Regions from separate parts of the Homo sapiens genome. Here region 2 is linked to region 1. The links are contacts of gene promoters, found by promoter capture Hi-C in human tissues and cell types (Jung and others, 2019). All regions are on one chromosome and are shown on one strand. Each heading gives the region's core, a stretch centred on a gene start or on the middle of the fragment in contact. The rest is flanking DNA. Distances are from core to core; before and after follow the strand shown. Region 1 holds the start of HCN3 (hyperpolarization activated cyclic nucleotide gated potassium channel 3). Region 2 overlaps ASH1L (ASH1 like histone lysine methyltransferase).

Region 1 (6,868 bases), core at 1,430-3,929:
AACCCCACGTCTACTAAAAATACAAAAATTAGCCAGGCGTGGTGGCATGCGCTTGTAATCTCAGCTACTCAGGAGGCTGATGCAGAAGAATCGCTTGAACCCGGGAGGCGGAGGTTGCAGTGAGCCAAAATTGTGCCATTGCACTCCAGCCTGGGCGACACAGTGAGACTCCTTCTCAAAATAAATAAACAAATATAAAAATAAATAAATAAATAAATAAAATTACTCTTCCATCTACATACATATCCCTACTATATATCATTTACCTCACCATTGCTAAATATTTTTAAGGTTAAAAAAAAAAGCTAAAGTATCCTGTGCTAATCTCACAGCATTGCTGAAAACATTTACATGGAGACAATAGATGTGACAGTGTGGTACAGGCACTAGTTGGTATTATGACTCACTCACTCTTTATCCCCAGATTTCTGAAAAGGCTGCTGCTTCCCCCATCTCCAGTTATCTGCCCATTCTAGTCTAGGACCTCATGCCCTCCCCAGCCTTCTCCACCCCATTCCTCTTCTCCAACACAGTTGGACCCACGGATCCTGTTCCTCTGCTGAGGTTTGCTCATCCATGTCTCAGGGTGGGGTGGTCTATCCTGCCTTCCTCTGAATTGAGCTTTCCAGGGATGCCCTTCCCCCTCCACAGAACCTCAAACAGGGCTGCACACACAGAGAAGCTCCACAGGAGATCATGAAGCAGCAAGGCTTGAGTTCTGCATACCTTTCCTCCTCTGGCCTCCCTGTGTCCACTGGGACTCTGGCTGAGCACAGGCAGAGGCATGGGCAGGGGTGAGTGACATTGCTGTGGCAGACACCGTGGAAAGAAGAGGTCAAGAGGGAACTGTGTGAAGCCCTCATTCAGAGAATGGCACAGGAAAATCTCAGGGACTCAGTTACCTATGGTGGTTTTAATTCTAGGACACACCTAATCCCAGTGTCAACTCAGGAGCTAGCCCCTTCTGACTCGGACTGCAAAATCAATTTTCAGCCCTGAAAGAAACTTCCTCAAGTCCGGGCCTCTGGGAAGCCCCTTAGACTGTATGTTTTCAATAAACAAAAACCCTCGGCCATTCTTCTTTTCTCTCCTCGGCTGCTGAGGAGGAATCCTGTATTGTGAGACACTAAGAGAGGGGAGGGAAAGAGGGTTCGCCTAGCCATGAAAGCATCTTCACAGCCTGACTCACAGGTGGGTCACAAGCCTGGCGGGTGATGTAGTATAGAGAATGGAGAAGCACAATCAGAGGGATACCAGGCTTCTGGGGATCCGTCTGCGAGTGAACTGAGGGAAGAGAGTGAGATCCACAGGAGACTAGAAAAGGCGCACTGGCTGGGTGGGAACGAGGCAGCAAAGACAGGAGTGAAAGGAACAATGGGAGGAAGAGAGACATAGAGGGAGTGTGTATATATGTGGATTCAAGATAATGTCTGGGTCTACAACTGTATTTCGAGGCTCCAGATTCACACCTCTTCCTCTCTGCTTCTTTAGTTCCCCAGGTTAGGTGCTTTGCACACATCCCTGCCTCATCCAAGAGCTGTCCTTCATTTCCCCCAAGGACAGGGCTGCTGTCTTCCCCTAGCGACCTTGATGTAGAGGTACACCCTGACGGAGACTGTGAAATGGCCCCACCCCCACCCTCTGTTCCTTCTCTGGGAGTCACCTGGGTGGTGGTCCTGCCCCTGCTTTGCCGCCTCAGTCACTCTGAGTCTCGGCCCCGCCCCGCCGCCCCCGCCTTCAGCACTAGGGACAGCGACCAGAGCTGAGGTCTGGACCCCCCGCCCCCTTCAGCGTCCCTATTTTTCCTGGTAGTCTGTCATGCTGAACTAGGCAGGTGCTAAGGAGCGGGTGTGGGGATGGGAGATGGCGGAGCTCGGCTTCTCCCTCAGACTGGCCCCGATACTTAGAATATAATTTCCTAGATCTCCAGCAAGCAGGACTGGAGGAGGCAGGGGTCCCAAACTCTGGTAGTTCCTTTGGTCCGGATGGGGTCCCGGGTTCCTGAAAGAGGAAATCCAGGTCTCTGGAGATCCCCTGATGTCTGCTTGCCCCTTCTGGTGCCCCCAGCCTGTCCAGGCACGGAGGACCTCCGGCAGGGGATACCCGCCCAGGAATTCCCAGGCTAGACTGGTGCAAGTGACTCTCCCGCCCCACCAAGGGACCCCGGGCTGGAAATGAAGTGACCGTGGAGGGTGGGGCGGGCCGGGTCCCGGTGTCGCTGCCCGCGAGGGTGGGATTGATGTACCCTGCCCTCCCCGCCAAGCCCCCAATACCGGAAGTCGCTGTAGGGGTGGATGATCCAGGCCCCCGCTGACTTCACCCGCTCCTGCTCGATTTCCACTGCTTTGTGGCTGCCGAACACCCGAAGGGAGAACTTGTTGACCGTAGGCTGGAGCAGCGTCCCAAGGTGCCTCCTCTTAGGCTCAGGCCCAGATTTGGGGATCGGACCTGAGGCCGCGGTCGCAGGCGGGGGAGCAACGGGAGGCACCGCCTCCAGTCCAGGGGTCGCCCCTTCGCTGGCCCCCGCCGCCGGCCGCTGCTCTGCCTCCATGGCGCCCACCCCGCTTACACGCTCGGCCTCCTAGAGCCCTCTGTGGCCATCAGGTACCCGCAACCCCTCCAGAGCAGGAGTCGGCGCAGCCCCGCGGGCTCTAGCGGAGGCGTCGTAGGCTCGGAATCGCCGGCGCGCGGGGCGGAGGGGGTGTGTGCTAGACTGGCGGGCGGCGGGCGGGCTGCGCGGCGCCCCCTGGCGAGGGCCGCGCCAAGACCGGGCGGGGCTGGGACGCCGGGATCCTGGAGGAACTCCGAGAGGGGCGTGGCTTAGCAAAGAAGGCGGGGAGCGCAGCCTGAGCCAGGGAGAGGGCGTGGCCTAGCGTTGGCCTTTCATCCACTGAGAACCAGGGAGGAGGAGCCCCCTGCAGTGGCGGGAAAATCGGACGCGGGTTTGTAGCTTGAAGGACTTGGGAGGGAGAGGGATTGGGGACCAATGGAAGAAGTGGAAATGGCTTTTGGGATTCTTCTCCACTCTCGCCCAGGGACTTCTGTCCTGCTCCCGTCTTCTCTCAACACTGTCCTAGGCATATTCTTGTCTTTTGGTCTCCTCCGAACTGCTTCCCCTAGTATTTAATTTCCTAATTCATTCTGTCAGCCTTCACCAAGTGCAACTCTGCCTGTCATTGAGTGGATGCTGAGGAAACAAAAATGAATACAAAAGTCCTAGTCTTAGCATCTCCATGTAGTAATGGAAAACAACACAAAACAAAACAAAAACAAAGGCCTAGCCATAAAGCCACTGCTCATCTGTGCCCAACGACAGACAGGTAAATTGCAGTGCTATGCGAAGTGCTACAAATTCCTAAATATCTCAAATTCTCCCCTTCATCTCCAATTCTTATTACCACTGCCTCATTTCAAGCCCTCAGCATTTTTTCACTTAAATTACTTCGGAAACCTCTAAAAGAGTCTTCAACCTCTTCCAGGCCAATTCTTCTTCCATTCCCTGCCAGTTACCTTCCTAAAATCCAACTATGGCTGTGTCACTTGCTTGAAGCCCATCAAGCTTTCCCATCTTCTACAGGGGTACATTTAAGCTGCTTAGCATGGTGTACCAGGCCCAAAAAATTTGGACCTAGTTTCAACAGTCTCTCTTCTGACAGTCCCTCTCTTGAAAGCCACAGCCCCAATCATGCTGAAAGACTTTGTGCTGCCTTGTCTCTATGCTTTTGCAAATATTTTCTCTGCCTGGTATTCTCCTCCAATTCACTTTCGAACAGTTGGTTCAGATCTTGCTTTCTCTAGGAAACCTAGGAACACATTTCCAACTCTCCTTTCCTCAGGTAGGGTCTATTCTAGAGCTTTTTTACAGCAGCCAGGGCACCACTGTTTTGAGCAACTCATGTCACAGGGCTACCATTATTATTATTATTTTAGAGATGAGGTCACACTATGTTGCCCAGGCTGGTTTTGAACTCAGAGCTCAAGTGATCTTCCTGCCTTGGCTTCCCAAAGTGCTAGGATTACAGGCATGAGCATGGTCTCATTATTTATTTACAGATTTTCTCTCCTGTTAGATTGTGAAACTCTGAGAAACAGGAACCTTGCACCTGGCATAATTCTGGACACATAGTGGACATTCAGTAAATGCTTGTTGAATGAATTAATAATCTAGGAAAATGTTCCAGGAGGTGGAAGTGAAATCTTTACTTCTCTCTCCCCGACTCCTTCATTGATTGCTCTCCATGTTCTATTCCAGGGAACTTCTCTAAACTATGTCTGGTTATCTGATCTAACCTCCATCTGACCATCCTTCATCCAGCTCCTCTCTAATATTTCCTGACTTTATTTATTTACTCATTCTAGAGTCAGGGTCTTGCTCTGTTGCTCAAGCTGGAGTGCAGTGGTGTGATCATGACCCACTGCAGCCTCAAAGCAATCTTCCCACCTCAGTTTCCTGAGTAGCTGGGACTACAGGTGTGAGCCACCTTGCTCAGCTCCCTGACTTTAATATCGTTATTCTCAGATTATATTATTTCTCTTTCAATTGACCTTTCTGACCACTTCTCAATTCCTTCTGTAAAGTCTCTAACTCTTTCTCTTTCTCATTTTCTTTTTTTCTTTTCTTTTCTTTTTTTTTTTTTTTTTTTTTTGAGATAGAGTCTCACTCTGTCGCCCAAGCTGGAGTGCAGTGGCACGATCACGGGTCACTACAGCCTCAACCTCCCCAGGCTCAGGTGATCCTCCCACCTCAGCCTCCCGAGTAGCTGGGACTACAGGTGGGAGACACCATGAATGGCTAATTTTTATTTTTTATTTTATTTTATTTTAGACACAGTCTCACTCTGTCGCCCAGGCTGGAGTGCAATGGCACCATCTCGGCTCACTGCAACCTCCACCTTCTGGATTCAAGCGATTCTCGTGCCTCAGCCTTCCAAATAGCTGGGATTACAGGCACCTGCCATCACACCCGGCTAATTTTTGTATTTTTAGTAGAGACAGGGTTTCACCAGGTTGGCCAGGCTGGTCTCGAACTCCTGTGCTCAAGTGATCCACCTTCCTGGGCCTCCAAAACTGTTGGGATTACAGGCATGAGCCACCGCGCTTGGCCTAATTTTTGTATTTTTTTTTTTTTTTTTTTTTTTTTTTTTGAGACGGAGTCTCGCTGTCGCCCAGGCTGGAGTGCAGTGGCGCAATCTCGGCTCACTGCAGGCTCCGCCCCCTGGGGTTCACGCCATTCTCCTGCCTCAGCCTCCCGAGTAGCTGGGACTACAGGCGCCCGCCACCTCGCCCGGCTAATTTTTTGTATTTTTAGTAGAGACGGGGTTTCACCGTGTTAGCCAGGATGGTCTCGATCTCCTGACCTCGTGATCCGCCCGCCTTGGCCTCCCAAAGTGCTGGGATTACAGGCGTGAGCCACCGCGCCCGGCCTTGTATTTTTTTAAGAGTCTGGGTTTTGCCCTGTTGCCCAGGCTGTCTCAAACTCCTATGCTTAAGTGATCCACCCACGTTGGCCTCCCAAAGTGTTGGTATTACAGGCGTGAGCCACCTCGCCCAGCCTTCCTGTTCTTTTTTAAGATTTAGTAAACTGGCCAAGCGCCGTGGCTGATGCTTGTAATCCCAGCACTTTGGGAGGCCGATGGGGGAGGATTGCTTGAGCTCAGGGGTTCAAGACTAGCCTGGGTAACAAAGTGAGGCACTATCTCTACAAGAAAAAAAAAAATAGCTGGGCGTGGTGATGCGCGCTTTTTTTTTTTTTTTTTTTTTTTTTTGAGACAGAGTCTCGCTCTGTCACCCAGGCTGCAGTGCAATGGCCCGATCTCGGCTCACTGCAACCTCCGCCTCCCGGGTTCAAGCGATTCTCCTACCTCAGCCTCCTGAGTAGCTGGGATTACAGGCGCCCGCCACCATGCCCGGCTAATTTTTGTATTTTTAGTAGAGACGGGATTTCACCATGTTGATCAGGCTAATCTCGAACTCCTGACCTCGTGATCCGCCCGCCTCGGCTTCCCAAAGTGTTGGGATTATAGGCGAGAGCCACCGCGCCCGGCCCTAGTAAACTTGTATTTCTCACACATTATGTAAGCCACCTTAGGATACAGTTCTCAAGTAAGTCCCCCTTTTCGGCACCCGATTCTCCAACCCTCCATTGCTCAAACCTTTCCTCCATGGCTGTGTCCCCACCCCGAGTCGTGCATAACTTTTGTTGATGACAAAAGGTGGCAGACTTTTGTCCTGGGGATAGGTAGGTGAAGTGTTTTAAGAAATGGTTATTTTCAGGCTATGCAGAAGAATGAGACTTCACCATCAAGCCTCACTACAGTCAGGCTTGCAGAGCAGCGACACTGTATTGACAATGACAATCCTTTCTTTTAAACTCCAAACCTAACTAAGCCACACGTCTCCATGCAAAGGGTAAAAGATTGAAGACGGAGTGGGAAAGGACAGGAGGCGGGGCATAGCGGGCCTGGAAGGCTTCCAGCTTGTCCCTGTGGACCCTCCTCGCCCCTATGAACTTCCGCCCCCAGTACCTCCGAGGCTCTGACAGGCGGATGCCTGCCAACTACGTGAGCACGTGGTGGCGCGCGCGGTCCTGGGGGCGGAGCCCAGGGGGTAGCTGGGAAGCGACGCAGGACGTCGGTCCGTGCGTACGTGCTCGCTCACGGCGGCGGCGGCGGAGCGGAGAGGCCAGAGCCGGAGACCGAGCTGGGATCGGGCCCCGGGCGGGGGCGGTGCGAGCGGCGCCAAGCAGATCTTAGGGGCGGGGACGGAGCCGGGGCGGGCGGGACTGAAGCGGAGCCCGGGAACGGGGCGGGAGGTCCCAGGGTCCCGGGTTGGGGGGGTGGAGCAGCATTTCGTCGCCGCGGGGGTGCCG
Region 2 (6,873 bases), core at 2,189-4,688, 190 kb before region 1:
GGGTTTCACTGTATTGGCCAGGCTAGTTTCAAACTCCTGACCGCAAGAGAACCACCTGTCTCAGCCTTCCAGAGTACTGGGATTACAGGTGTGAGCCACTGCACTTGGCTTTTTTTCTTCTTTATAAAATAACATACAGAAACCACAAAGACCTCTCTGAAGTCACTGCTCTGACACTAGTTCTCTATCACCAATTGGATGTTGTACAATTTAGTTCAATTCTGAATACAAATTACCTGAAGCTAGTGAAGACCTCAAGTTAAGAGCAGAGTTCATCATGAGACTGCAGATGCCAGTCACAAATTTTGGTGTTCCTGAGACATCCATACTTCTGCCTGGCCTGCTAAAAATTTGCAACTTCGTGCAACCCCCTCAATTTTGGTAACTTGTTAAAAGGACTCACAGAACTTGTGAAAGCACTATAGTATGATTACAGTTTTGTTACAAAGGATGCAGATCAAGAACAACTAGTTGAAGAGATACATAGAGCAGTGTTTGGTGCAAGAAGGGTCCACAGACCTCCATGCCTTTCCCCTTGTGGAATCCGGGCACATTGCCCTCCCAGCACATCACTATATTCACCAACCTGGAAGCTCCAGTGAACCTCAGTGTCCAGAGTTTTTATTGGGGCTCTGTTAGGTAGGCCGGATTGATTAGATCATTGGCCATGTTTTTTAATTCAATTTTCAGTTCTCCACTCCCTTGAGGTTGGGGTGACCCAAAGTTTCAGATTTTTAATTATGTGATTTGGTCTTTCTGGTCACCGGCCCCCATCTTGAAGTTACCTCAGGCTTTCATCTCACTGTCGTAACAGAGACATTCCTGTCACTTGGGTAATTACAAGGGTTTTTGAAACTCTGTGCCAGGAACCAGGGACAAAGACCAGCTATATTCTTTACTTGATCATAAGTCTAAATTCTTTTGTTAATTGTTCTCTATCTTGGAATCTCTCCATCTTCTTCACAATTACTGTTGATAAGTACATGGAGATGTGACTTGATTTTCTAATAGAAACTTAATATACTTTTTTCAGGTAGATGTGAGAATAGGTTTAGTTGTCTTAACAAAAACCAGTCGAGGAAAAGTTTTTAGTTAAGCAGAATACTAAATAAAAATATTAATTCAGGCTCAGATATCTTTTGTTTTGATCCCTTTGAAAGTCAGAACTGGTTTTGTTTAGGAGTATTTTATGTATTTGATTTTTATTCTTAACTATTCCCTTATGATGGTAGCTGTTCTTTCAGCAAACAGTTATTTTGTGCCTATTGTGTGCCAGGAGAAGGAACATGCTGTAATTCCAGCACTTTGGGAGGCCGAGGTGGGTGGGCCACTTGAGGTTAGGAGTTCGAGATCAGCCTGGCCAACATGGTAAAACCCTGCCTCTACTAAAAATACAAAAATTAGCCAGGCATGGTGGCACATGCCTGTAGTCCCAGCTACTCGGGAGGCTGAGGCACAAGAATCACTTGAACCCAGGAGGTGGAGATTGTAGTGAGCCGAGATTGCACCATTGCACTCCGGCCTGGGCAACAGAGCGAGACTCTGTCTCAGAAAAAAAAAAAAAAAGGTAATTTCTGCTTTAAAGTTGATTTATAGTTTAGACATGTATATGAATAGTTATTGACAGTTTTTTTTTTTGTTTTTTTTTGTTTTTTGTTTTTTGAGACAGACTCACTCTGTTGGCCAGGCTGGAGTGCAGTGGCACAATCTTGGCTTACTGCAACCTCCGCCTCCCAGGCTCAAGCAATTCTCCTGCCTCAGCCTCCTGAGTAGCTGGGATTACAGGTGTGTGCCACCATGCCCAGCTAATTTTTGTGTTTTTAGTAGAGACGGAGTTTCACCATGTTGACCAGGCTGGTCTCGAACTCCTGACCTATGGTGATCCACCCGCCTCGGCTTCCCAAAGTGCTGGGATTACAGGTGTGAGCCACCGCGCACAGCCTGACGGTTCTTAATATTGAGATACTTACAAGGCATTTTGGGGAGCAGAGAAGTGAGGGACTGACTTTAAAGGTCTTGGGAAGGAGGAGGGAGTTTTGAATTTAGCAGCGAAGAATAATGTGTGACACGTGTTTCTTACACTAGATATCAGCTTTGCAAGGGCATGGGGATGTGTTACTGTGCTTAGTTAAGTGTTAATGGTTTGATATGGGACCCAAGAGATGGGACTGGAAAGATAGGCAGATCATAAAGTCCTCGTTTATATGAGACTCCCAAGAGTATAGAGTTTACTTTATAAGGTATGAGAAGTTAAGGGTTTTAAGATGGGGAATAATTTGTTGAGATTACATTGACAGCAGTGTGATAGATGGATTAGTGAAAAGAGATCAGGTAGATCAGTTTGGAAACTGCTCCCACAAAATATTATGAGGCTCTTATTATGAGGCTCTGAGCCAAGGTAGAGATGATGTGATTAAGTGAAATGAGATATGCAAAAGGATAAGGTTGGAAATAGGTAATAAATTTGGATTTCAAGCCTGTTTTGTAGGACAGATGGATCTGTAGCTCAAAGGAGAGGTAAAACCTGAAGATAATTATAGATACTTTATTATTAAGGCTATGAGAAGGAATGACAATATTTATGGTGAATTCAGTGGGTTTCTTAAGTGAGTTTATTATAGTCAAGAGTGTCAAGTGGGTGGACGTGGTGGCTCACGCCTGTAATCCCAGAACTTTGGGAGGCTGAGGCGGGCAGATCACCTGAGGTCGGGAGTTCAAGGCCAGCCTTACCAACATGACGAAACCCCATCTCTACTAAAAATACAAATAATAGCCGGACGTGGTGGCACATGCCTATAATCCCAGCTATTCAGGAGGCTGAGGCAGGAGAATTGCTTGAACCTGGGAAGTGGAGGTTGTGGTGAGCTGAGATCACGCCATTGCACTCCAGCCTGGGCAAGGAGAGAAACTCCGTCTCAAAAAAAAAAAATTAATTAATTAAAAAAAAGAGTGTCAAGTGTTATGGGAGATTGGTTAGGTAAGTACTGAAAGTGGATGATTGGCTTTGGCGGTTAGTTTGTCTTGTGTCTGAGAGCCATTTGTATAGTGGCAAATGTTAGATTTCTGGAGGCTGAGGAATGGAAGTTAGGAAATGCAGACAATTAAAATTCTTACACCTTTACATTTTGCTATTTTTTCCTCAGTGTTTTCTTTTGTAGCACTTCTGACTGGTTTATTATTTGCTTTTTCCTTACAATGACATTGTTATTCTATAGCATTCTGTTGAAGATGTAATTACATTTTCTCAATCTGTGATGTCAGGTTGCTTTTTGAAGTATAAAGGTTTAAGAAATACATAATTACATATGATTTTTAAGTGATCTTCTCGGTCTTCAGTTGATTTTTTCCATATATAAATTTAAGGTAGATTCATTTTACATTTGGTATCATGTTAAAATGCTCCCAAAACTACCTACTGTATAATAGGTATTGCAATATTGTTGATCACCTTCAGGATATTATTATCCTGAAATGTCTCCCAGTGGTCCAAGCTGGGACAGTTTGAGCAACAAAATAAATATGAGAGGATTGGATTATAACCTAAAAAATAAAGTCAATATCTATAAATCCATGTTGATTTAAATAAATGATTGACTAAATAAATACTTGGCAGAAAAGAAGCAAATCTTCCTTACAGAAAAATTCCAAATAATATATGTAGAACACACTTTCAGGAGGTGGAACTTAATTTACCTCTTCTTGAATATGGACTGGACTGCTGACTTTTAAAGAACAGAGTATGAAGAGGGAAAAGCAGTAACTTTACAGTGAAGAGGCCTGGCAGACAGCACCTTAACCAAGTTCAAGGTTAACTTCACCAATGATAAGGCATGGTGATATCATGTACTCTCTGATAGAATGTGTTAAATCTAAGCAGAAAAAAAAAATAATAATAATAATAAAGGGCATTCTACAAATACTTGACCAGTACTAAAAAGTATCAAGGACCTGAAAAAACAAGGAAAGTCTGAGAAGCTTTTACAGAACAGAGAAGACTAAGGAGACATGACAACTAAATACAATGTGATATCCCAGATTGACAGTGAAAAAAGGACATGAGTGGAAAAAAATTGGCTAAATCTAAACAAAGTCTGGAATTTTGTTAATAGTATTATTCCAATATTAATTTCTTGGTTGTGACAAATGTACTGTAGTTATGTAAGATGTTAACATTGGGGGATGTTGGGTAAAGGACATACGAGTATTCTCTGTACTATCTTTGTAACTTTTATGTAAATCTGAATTTATTCCAGAATAATGAGTTTTTTTAATACAGCAGAATACAAATTGTTAAGTAAAACATATCTCAAACTGATAATTGATGAAATAAGAAATAAAGGTTATTTACTATTTGTATTGAGTGGATTCCTCATAAGTGTTGGTTGGGGGTAAAACAGGCATATTTGATAAATCATGTTGATATAAATTTCAGGAAAAATAAATGAAACCAGATTAGGGACACTGGAATGTGTAGCTTGGACCAAGGCATTTAACCCTTCTCTCCTTGTTTCAAAAATGGGGAATCAAACTGACTTATCACTTTGAGCATTTTTAAAGTAAACAAGTATATTCACTGTAAAATTAAATCTTATGAAGACTTAAAAGGAATAACAGCTATAATCACTTTTATAAATTATGTGCATATGGTAGTTAGCTTATTTTTCTAACATATACTGTTCTGTACTGTACAGACTAACAGCTATAAAATCAGCTTGATGCAAGTGAAATTACAGTAAAATTACACACTTAAGTAAGGCCAGGTTTCCTGGTTTCTCCCAATCCTGATAGTGATTCTATTTAATTTATGTATGTATGTTAGGTAGACATGAAATAGGTCTCATGGGCAAGAGTTTCTGACTTGGATGAGCAAGAGTTTCTGACCTGGAATGTCAGTTATTTCATCCCTGTTTTTCAGCATATGTGACTCATGGCTGGCTACACATGACAGAACTTACAAACCTGGATTCTAAAATTGGCAGAGCAGTAGAATGGAGTATTTTCATTTAGCATTTATAGCTTACAAGTCATAGAACAAGCAGACAATGGAACATTATTATAAATGATTTACTACATGTAAATTATATACATTATTTGGTGCATTCAGTGATGATGAATATTTTGTCCTCCAAGAATAAGTGAGGCTTAAACCTTTTTTTTTTGGAAAAAGTATATTCACTGTACAAGCATATAGATTGAAGCAAAGAATACTGAGTTTTCTCTTTAACTGAAGAGTATAAGCTTTGATCAGAATATACTGATCTCAAACAATTTCTCTAGTGCTGTTTATAAGACACACCTATGCAACAGTTAGAAGGAATAAGTTCAGATGTTCAGTAGCAGGGTGGGGTGACTATAGGTGACAGCACAATATTGTGTTTTTCAAAAATAGCTAGAAGAGAGGACTTGAAATGTTCCTGACACAGAAATCATAACTACGCAAGGTGATGGATACCCAAAATACTCTGACCTGATTCTTATACATTCTATACATGTAACAAAATATCACATGTACCCAATAAATATGTACAACTATTATGTATCAATTTTAAAAAGATTTAAAACATGATAGAAAAAAGATATGCCTATAAAGGAAGTGTGAACCTACAGAGATGAAAGAAAATTGTTTGTGGTGTGGTTAGTGCAGTTAGGGGAATTTCCAGAAGAATTCCATTTCAGTGAATGATGTCATTTGGGCATTATGAAAAATAGCCTAGTTAGAGAAAAAAACAGAGTTTTTGTTTTGTTTTGTTTTGTTTTGTTTTTTTGAGACGGGGTCTCACTCTGTCGCCCAGGCTGGAGTACAGTGGTGCTATCTTGGCTTACTGCAAGCTCTGCCTCCCGGGTTCATGCCATTCTCCTGCCTCAGCCTCCCAAGTAGCTGGGACTACAGGTGCCCGCCACCACGCCTGGCTAATTTTTTGTATTTTTAGTAGAGACGGGGTTTCACCGTGTTAGCCAAGATGGTCTCAATCTCCTGACCTCGTGATCTGCCTGCCTCGGCCTTCCAAAGTGCTGGGATTACAGACATGAGCCACAGCGCCCGGCCAAAACAGACTTTATAGCTTAAAAATCGCCAGAACAGGCTCTGAGTCATACTCTCTTGTAGTGCATTTAGTTGGTGCATCAGATAAAATGTATTGCTTTCTGTATTTCCCACAATTGAAAACAGCTGTTTTTATTGTGGACCCAGCTTTTACCTTAGCATTCAGCTCATTCACAAGAAGGTTCCAAGGTGGCTATCAACTGTGAACCATACCAAAGGATTCAGAACTTGAATCTGGGAACAAAAAAAATCTTGACCAGAAGTTCTCAAATAGTTTGATATTTTATGTTCATATTCCTTTACTATGGTAGCCATTTTTATTACAACCAATTTTGGTTCAGTCGTTGTTTAACACACATTCCCAAATAGCTTTGACTTATAAATAATGAAAGAAGAGAAATCTTTTTTAAAACTAAACTTTTGTAACAATTTAATTTTGGTGGGAAGGAACAATTTCAGTGTTAGAAACTTTTAAAGTAAATTATTTTAAAATCGATAATATCTTAGAACTGACTACTGCATAGCATTCTTCCAAATTAGCATACTTAATTTATTTTTCTGTAATTCACCCAAAGATATTTCTAGCATTGCAAACATCAAACATTCCACTCATATAAATGATTTCTTAGTTACTTGTGTCTTTAGTGTTGATCTCCAGAGTGTGACTAAAATTCATACTATATTAAGTTATAAAAGCTTTAATAGTGAACTTAGGCTAAAGAAACATATGTTTTGTCCAACCAACTATTGATTTAATTCACTGTTTTTTTTTTTTTTTTTTTTTTTGCTAATTTGTATTTGGCACCAGGGAAATTCCTTGTTTTTCTAGG

Evidence for each region. Contacts are between HindIII fragments. The study calls those that stand out against the background at their distance.
Region 2: a fragment that was not itself captured here is called in contact with the fragment with the promoter of HCN3 in region 1 in 2 of the 25 tissues and cell types used here (dorsolateral prefrontal cortex and spleen).

What each region holds. Positions count from the first base shown.
Region 1 is chr1:155,273,274-155,280,141 of GRCh38, reverse strand. It overlaps HCN3 (hyperpolarization activated cyclic nucleotide gated potassium channel 3), which reads right to left and starts at 2,679. Exons shown (of 8, transcript NM_020897.3): 1 at 2,274-2,679. The coding sequence starts at 2,551. CLK2 (CDC like kinase 2) reads left to right here and starts at 6,638. Exons shown (of 13, transcript NM_001294338.2): 1 at 6,638-6,868. RefSeq lists an enhancer at 5,545-6,045. The HindIII fragment of the contact is 20,767 bases long and covers 1-5,348 here.
Region 2 is chr1:155,465,246-155,472,118 of GRCh38, reverse strand. All of the region lies in intron 3 of ASH1L (ASH1 like histone lysine methyltransferase), which reads left to right. Among named protein-coding and RNA genes, the nearest start is that of ASH1L-AS1, 93 kb to the left of the region's middle. The HindIII fragment of the contact is 5,103 bases long and covers 887-5,989 here.